Linked DNA regions of Homo sapiens: all the other regions are linked to region 1. Evidence: promoter capture Hi-C in 16 types of primary human blood cells and fetal thymus (Javierre and others, 2016). All regions are on one chromosome and are shown on one strand. The core of a region is centred on a gene start or on the middle of the fragment in contact, and the rest is flanking DNA. Distances in the headings are between cores, read along the strand shown.

What was found. Contacts are between HindIII fragments. The CHiCAGO score rates a contact against its expected background, and 5 or more counts as called.
Region 2: a contact is called between the fragment with the promoter of YBX1 here and the fragment with the promoter of CDCA8 in region 1, in 1 of 17 cell types (non-activated CD4 T cells). The highest score is 6.4, in non-activated CD4 T cells.
Region 3: a fragment that was not itself captured here is called in contact with the fragment with the promoter of CDCA8 in region 1 in 1 of 17 cell types (non-activated CD4 T cells); the score reaches 5.4 in non-activated CD4 T cells.

What each region holds. Positions count from the first base shown.
Region 1 is chr1:37,691,237-37,693,811 of GRCh38, reverse strand. CDCA8 (cell division cycle associated 8) reads right to left here and starts at 1,296. Exons shown (of 10, transcript NM_001256875.2): 1 at 1,028-1,296; 2 at 779-907. The coding sequence starts at 1,121. It also overlaps a transcript of AIRIM not described here. RefSeq lists enhancers at 515-1,023, 1,024-1,534, 1,573-1,762, 1,535-2,044, 2,045-2,555 and silencers at 1,993-2,162, 2,183-2,242. The HindIII fragment of the contact is 4,527 bases long and covers 1-2,575 here.
Region 2 is chr1:42,681,132-42,683,706 of GRCh38, reverse strand. It overlaps YBX1 (Y-box binding protein 1), which reads right to left and starts at 1,289. Exons shown (of 8, transcript NM_004559.5): 1 at 976-1,289; 2 at 241-304. The coding sequence starts at 1,141. It also overlaps a transcript of PPIH not described here. RefSeq lists silencers at 384-533, 644-753, 944-1,143 and an enhancer at 1,584-1,633. The HindIII fragment of the contact is 3,657 bases long and covers 1-2,575 here.
Region 3 is chr1:33,475,050-33,477,624 of GRCh38, reverse strand. All of the region lies in intron 1 of ZSCAN20 (zinc finger and SCAN domain containing 20), which reads right to left. Among named protein-coding and RNA genes, the nearest start is that of ZSCAN20, 3.7 kb to the right of the region's middle. The HindIII fragment of the contact is 4,752 bases long and covers 1-2,575 here.

The DNA of each region.
Region 1 (2,575 bases), core at 47-2,546:
GGAGCTGCTTCGGGTTATTCTTCTATCTGAGCTCTGGTTAACTAACCATGTCATTTATTCATTCATTTTTAAATGGGTAAAATATACATATATTTTTAAAAATACTATTTTCTGGCCGGGCGCAGTGGCTGACTCCTGTAATCCCAGCACTTTGGGAGGCCTATGTAGGTGGATCACTTGAGGTCAGGAGTTCGAGACCAGCCTGGCCAACATGGTGAAACCCCGTCTCTACTGAAAATACAAAAATCAGCGGGGCATGGTGGCAGGCGACCGTAATCCCAGCCACTCCAGAGGCTGAGGCAGGAGAATCACTTGAACCCAGAAGGTGGAGGTTGCAGTGAGCAGGGATCGCACCACTGCACTGCACTGCACTCCAGCCTGGGTGACAGAGTGAGACTCTGTTTAAAAAAAATTAAATAAATTTCCTGATGTGTGAAAATTATGTGAAATTCACATTTCAGTGTATCCATAACTAAAATTTTATTGGAATACAGCCCATCCATGCCCATTCACTACAGCTGTTTTGGACCTGTAAACAGCAGAGCTGAGTTGTCCGACAGAGACCGCCCCGCCCGCCGCCCCCCAACCACCCCCCCATTTTTCATAGAGAAAAATGAAGTAGGGAAGTGAGACAGAGAGTGAAAGGGTCTGCAATTTTCCATAAGTGGTCATGTCAGATCTCATTAAAAGGTGACATCTGAGCGAGCCCTTTCTGAAGGGTGTCACCTAACCCCAAGGGGCTCCTGGCCTCCGCCCAGGGAAGCTCTCCAGCTCTTACCGAAGTAGTCAAGCCAGTTCATCTCGCGCAGAGCCTTGGGGAGCCGCAGGATCTCGATGTTGTAGAGGTTATCCACCTCCTTGAGGAGGTTCTGCCTGTCTGACTCAATTTGCTTGATTCGTATTTCCACTGCGGGAGGGCAGAGCCGACAGGACACGGGTCACGGGCGGGCGAATCTGTGCAGCTCGTGTCCCCACCCGCCAGCATCCCGCGACCGCCCCAGGAGGCCGCGACGGCCTGGCCCCTTACCTTCACGGTCGAAGTCTTTCAGAAAGGAGGCGAGCTTCCGCCTCCGTAAGGAGTTGGTCTTGGCCACCCGACTACTGCCCTTCCTAGGAGCCATGGCGCTCGGCGGAGGCTGCGGGGAGCGGCGGAGATGGGGCAGGGAAGCAAGAAACTGGGTAGGGACGAGGAGGGCGGACGGGGACCACCCGAAGAAGTCGCCAGGCACGTACCTGCGGTCCCGAGACAAGGGCTGAGCAAAACCTCGCTGTGCCAGTGAGAGAGAGCGGCTCTACAGTCAACCGCCACCCAATTCAAACTCCACAGTCACAGGCTGACGAATGAGAAGCCGCCGTCCCACAACATCCAATCACAAGCAAGTTCCTGCCGGCCCAGGGTCTTCCGCCCAATGCGCCCCCTATAGCCTGAGTGCGACAGCGAGGCCGCCGCCGTCGCGGGTACTCCTGGGAGTTGTGGTCCAGGCTTGTTTCCCCGCCCTCCCCACCAACCCACCCGGCTCCGCCCTGGCCGGCTGCGAACTATACAAACTACTACTCCCGGCAGGCCTTGTGGCGGCTCTGCAATACCCCAAGCTCTGGAGGGCTGGGGGCCTACTAGGTCAGGTCGGCTGTAGGATTCTGCTCCAGGGTTGGCGGCTGCTTCTTTCTGGCCTGGCTGCCACTGAGTAGCCGAGGGGCCGCCGTGACCCTCTGACTGATTGACTGGCTGGCTGCCTACGTCGGCGCTCCTCAGGGCCCCAAGCTCCTCAGGCCGAACTTCGGGCAAGTGGCGGGTCGGCAGAGACAGAGCAGCCCCGGCAGGGTTTGACAGAGCAAGGGGGACGGAATGATAGAGGAGCAGGGCAGGGGTGCAGGCTTTGGGGGGGGCGCGCTATCCCGCGGCCAGTCTGGGCAGCGAGTGGGGGGAACCCTGTCGTTCCTCGCTCCCCCGCGGGCCGGCCACTCCCGCCCAGTTCGCGTGTTGGCGCCTCGACTGGGTGCGCAGCGCGGGGCTGCGACTTCAGGTGCAAGTAGTGGCGCTTGGCAGCTGGCCACACGGTGACTGCAGCATGAGCCGCGGCCACCAGGCTCCAGGGAGCCCAGGGCAGGAGGCAGCTCTGGGTGTCGTGGCCGTGGGCCTGGGAATGGGCGTGTAGACGGCGAGCCCCGCCGAGCCGCGGTCCTGTCGGAGGTGCTAACTGTGCATCTTGGTATCTGCCCACGGCCACAGGGTTGGATTGCTCAAGAGTTGTGCTGAGACCCAGAAGGCTAGAGGCTAGTTTCGAAGCTGTAGCTCAGGCTGAGTCTCAAGGCGGGCGGCGACTGGACGGCCAGACCGGCGAGCTCTTGACGGGTTTGTGGCCTGATTGTTTGGATTTGGTGCTTTTCACCTGTGGATGCGGTCTGAAGCCATGTCAGAGGGGTTGTGTTTAAGCGTGCATGTTATAGGCTATGGGAGTGATAATCTTGCCTCTCCCCCTCTGAGTTGAGGAACAATCGAAGAAATAAGCAAAGGTGCCAAGCAGGCTCCTGATGGGCACCAGCGAGCTTGGGGACAGAGCAGTCCAAGCATAGA
Region 2 (2,575 bases), core at 40-2,539, 5.0 Mb before region 1:
GACGAAGCCTTTTAAGTTAGCTTCAAATTAATATTTAGCTGCAAAACAAAGGCATTCTCTAGATCCACTAATCCCTAATCAAGGAAAACAACAACAACAAAAAATCATACTAATACACCAGAGGTAGTAAACGCCTTTCAGAACAGAGCTGTGGATTGGGGCTTCCCAAGCCCCGAGAAGCCGACAGAGCAGGAAGCAAGCAAGAAGGTGGGATGGAGGCTTCAGAGCCCGGCAGCTCACCTGTTGATGAAACCATATCCGTTCCTTACATTGAACCATTTTACTGTTCCCAAAACCTTCGTTGCTGGAAAAGAAAACAAAGCAAAACAAGCCACGATTACCAGCTATCCTTTTCCAAATCCGCCCGGCTTGGGCATCCGGTCCCTCGCACGCCGGCCGCCGCGGCCACCTGACAGCCCTTTCTCTCCACCGCCCGGGTGCGGGGCCACGCAGTCGCCGCCGCCGCCGCACACGTGGGTGAGTCTGAAGCGCGGGGCGCTCCAGGGCAGGCCCGGGGCGCGGGCCCCAGGATGGGTGTGTGCGCAGGCCGCGGACGGAGAGCACGTGAGGGAAGGGGAAGCCGCTCCGGCCTGCGTAGGCGGTGCGCCGCGCCCTCCGAGCACACGCGGAAGGGAGCTGGGTGGGGGTGACGCGAACAACGGCGTGCGGGCCCGAGCGCACGAGGCCGGTCGGCGGGGAGGGGACCCCGTCGCACACGCGGTCGGCGGCGCGCGGCCGCAGGGGGAGGGGCGCGCGGCCGCGCGGGGTCCACAGGGGGCGCGGGAGGCAGTGCGCGCGCGCCTGCCGGGCGGGTCCCCGCGAGAGGGAGTGAGGGGGGGACGGGGGGGATGGGCGGCCGCGCGCCGCGGAGTCGGTGCCCACCGGCCGCGCGCCCGCCGGCTCGCCCAGCTCCGGCTAACGGTTCCGCTGCTGGGCTGCCCGAGGGCCCCACCCCCGTCCCTGTCCGGTCCTCACCGATGACCTTCTTGTCCCCGCCGGCAGGCGCCGCCGATGTGAGGCCGCCCGGGCCACCGCTCCCTGCGCCGCTGCCCGTAGTGCCGGGCTTGGTGTCGGCGGCGCTGAGGGCGGGGGCGGCGGGGGGGGCGGCGGGCGGCTGCTGGGTCTCGGCCTCGCTGCTCATGGTTGCGGTGATGGTGACTGGGGCCGGCTGCGGCAGCTGCGGCTCCTCCCGGGGTGTGATGGTAACTAGGCCGGCGGCGGCGGTGGGGCTGCTCAGGGCTCTCTGGGGTCCGCTCTCCGCTCCCGCTACCGATCGAACTAGCGAGAATGGCGGGACAGGCGGGATAAGCCCTACGAGCGACCCGCCCTAGGCGTTGTTCACTGGCCAGTGGTACTGTCAATCTGCCCACCTGACCCCAATCCCTAGCTTCTATTGGCTAATATTTTATCAGTCCTCCATTCTCATTGGACCTTTGGCGGCTAATTCAGTCGACCTACAACCGTTCCTGCCTCCGCCGGCCGCCATAGAGACCGGAACTAGAATTAGAGTAGTCGGCCACGAAAACCATAGAGTACCCGAGAGGACGGGCAGAAGGAACGTGACTTCCACGAGGCAGCCGCCGGGCTGGCGGGCCCCACGTTCAGGGTTGTGTCTCGGCTGAAAAAAAGGCACGCCCGAACGCTGGGCAGGGATTACCCGGCCGGACCCGGGATTGGAAGGGGGCTCGAAGACGCCTTAGCCCCCCGTGAAGAAAAGGCTTCCCTCCCTCCCAGCTCCAAATACGGTCCCTGTGATCTGAGAACATTACGGCGGGCATAGAGTCGTCTTTTCTTTAATGGCCGTGTAGTCGCGGCACAGCCGAGGGTTTCTGGAATTGCCTTAAACGTATGCGTTTGAAGAGCGTACCCTTTTGTCGGAGCAGTCACCTTGGAGGGACCACGCAGGCTATGGCAGCCCGGGTTCAGCATGTTTAGGGCGAGGGTGTGCTCCATGGGGACCTGCCTTCTGATCCGTTTTACCAGGCATATATTTAAAAAAATGTGTCTTCCTTTCCAAGTATTCACATCTTTTTCTACTGACCACAAATCAGATTTAATTCAACTCACATTTATTGAACAAGCTAGCCTGTTTTGTTTTTTCACTTTATTCCTGCAACAGCCACGTGATAGAGGGATTACTATCCACGTTTCACAAACGATAAAATTGAGGCTGCCACCTGATGTTACTGAAGTCCTCCACCCACCTTCTTTCGTTCTTTTTTAAGCGTCTACTATCGGCTGGGGATGGAATAGTTCGCGAGTCAGTTTCTGCCTTCTGATGGAGGCAGAAATTTAAACAGCCAACACGGTAAATACTCCAGAGCTGCAAAACCACGAAGTATTTTGGGAGTGGAAGCAGGGAGAAGGTGGAGGGCTGACTTTCCGCGCACAGGGTACAGGCGAGAAGAGGTGAGATCTCGGGAAATGCAGTCAAGTAGTTCAGTAAGACTCGAATGTGACATTGGGTTGCAGAGGTGGGCAGTCACTTAGGTATATTTAATTGGAAATATATCCTGAGGGGAAGAGTGAGAAGAGCAATTTTAGAGTCATAAGTAGGGAGGGGCATCTTTTTAAA
Region 3 (2,575 bases), core at 56-2,555, 4.2 Mb after region 1:
AGGAATTCCTTTCTCTTTTATTTCCATGTCTCTGTGACACTTACCACTTTCTACACTGTATGAGACATTGTATGAGAAGGATGTGCGTATCTATGTGTGTCCCAGAGGAGATTACAGCCTCTCTGATGGCACCCATGCTGGGTTATTTGAAAAAATGAGCTCTCTGTGTCATCCCAACAAGTCTGGGTGACATAAAAAATGCCCACTCAAAGGAGATCATTAGCTGCTTCCAAGTGGGAATGACACAACTGAATTGAGAATGGAGAGATGGTGGTATTTTTCATTTTGGGCAATCTGACTGGACTGAAGAGAAACAAGACAAGGGTAATAAAAATTAAAGTCTTGCCCTAAAGGCCTCCATATGCTTAGGAAGAGGCTTAAAGCACAACTCATGGCTACCTGGCAGCTTCCTACTCATCCTTCAACCACCAGCTCAAATGTCACCTCCTTTGATAGGAGTTCCTTGACATGCCCTTTTCATGTCCTGCCCTCCAAGAATTGCCTCCCTGATCCTATATCACCAAAGCAATTGGTACATACCTCTAATATAGGTATTATCCTACACTATTGTAGTTACCTGTTACTATATCTGACACCCACATTATACTATATTACTAGAATCAGTATTGTATGTTACTAATTTCTGTATCCACAGTGCTCAACCCAGTATCTGATAAATAGCAGGGCCATTAAAAAGTTTTATTACCATGTATTAAAATGATAAACCTGGCGTATCAAAAGCCTAATGGGATACAGATATTCCATAATTTATATTAAACTAAACTATTTCTGTCTACCTACATTACTGCTATAAGCACTCAGAGAGATCACATATGTAGAAAGATTTTGCCTTTCATGAAATTTCTTTTTGAACCTAAAGAATTCGCCTTTCATGAAATTTCTTTTTGAACCACAACCTTATTGATGCATGAGTTCAAACACATTTCTGTCACCCTCTCACACAAGGAGCAATTCATCAATCATTTATAGAGTACCAGCTATACCCTGTTTGGAAGCTACAGATCTACCAGTAGCTGGGACTGACAGTCCCTACCTTCAATAAAATTACAGTCTAGTGAGACAGACAGTCAATAAGCAAGCAAAGACATTTGCGTTCCTGCACAAACAGGACACTACAACAAAATAGGCAATTAGCAGTCACACCAGGCCCAAAGCTCAGAGTCTCAGATAATAGGTATTTTCTCCTGGAAAGACTTGAAAGTCCCAAAGGTTTGTTTCAAATAGAAATCGGAAAGCCCCAGGGACCACATATCACCATAACCTTTTTTTTCTAAGGAACCATAACCGTAACTTTCTAAGGAAGTTAGACCGAAGTATGGATAGCAGGCTATTGTGGGGAGAGGGAGGCCAACAGAGTCGGCCAACAGCCGGGTGACTTCACACAGAAGTGAACAAGGGAAAATGGACCGGGGCATTCCTCAGTTCCGAGATGACCAGGAATATCGAGCCTCATTAGGACCAGCAATTTCTAAGAGTACCCCTTTACTGAGTGCCCACAAGGTGCCAGGCACAGTGCTGTGTTCCACATTCATAATCTCACTGAAGCCTCCAGGCAGCAACTGGAGTCTCATTAGGTGTTGAGCTGCATTTCACTGATCTGTAACTTCCACTGCAAAGATCAGAAAGAGAGAAAGAGGGCCGGGCGCGGTGGCTCACGCCTGTAATCCCAGCACTTTGGGAGGCCGAGGCAGGGAGATCACAAGGTCAGGAGTTCGAGACCAGCCTGGCCAACATGGTGAAACCCTGTCTCTACTAAAAATACAAAAAAAAAAAAAAAATAGCCAAGCGTGGTGGCTCGTACCTGTAATCCCAGCTACTCGGGAGGCTGAGGCAGGAGAATTGCTTAAACCCAGGAGGCGGAGGTTGCAGTGAGCTGAGATCGTGCCACTGCACTCCAGCCTGGGCAACAGAGCACGACTCTGTCTCAGAAAAAGAAGAAAAAAAAAAGAAAGAGAGAAAGAGCATGATTTAAATAGTGCAGCCAGTTGCGTTCACTATCTGTTCGAGAATAAGCATGTGGTGGTGGCACCTAGGACTTCGCTATTCACCAGGTTGGTCTTGATTCCCTCGTGCCTCTCTTTCCACTAAGTGTGAGTAAAGTGTCTTTCATACCGCACAGTCCCTAATACAAGCGAATTCTCATCTAATGTTCAAACAAGAAAGCCCAGCTGTGCTGATTAGTTTATTTATTGAAAGGCAGCGTGTTAGTTTCTGAAACGGCTCCTTGCCAAAGGATTTTCAAACTAACTGTGATTTTTGGCTAAAGTGATTTTCACCCTTAGAATATTATTATCTGATAAGGTATGACTGCACTATATCCTCAATTACCTAAAGGGAAACTGAGTGTTTATGAAGATTCACTTAAGGTTACACAACTAGCAAGTGGTAGAGTTAGGGTCTAAGCCGAGATCCCTTTTCTCCAATCATTTTTCTTAACCATGTCTTATAGCCTCCTCTATGTGTGCTAGTCATCCAAACTCTTAAGATGACAGTACGGGAGAATGGAAAGAACATTAAGGCAGGAGTGAGCAGACTGGGGTTCTAGTTCCACTCC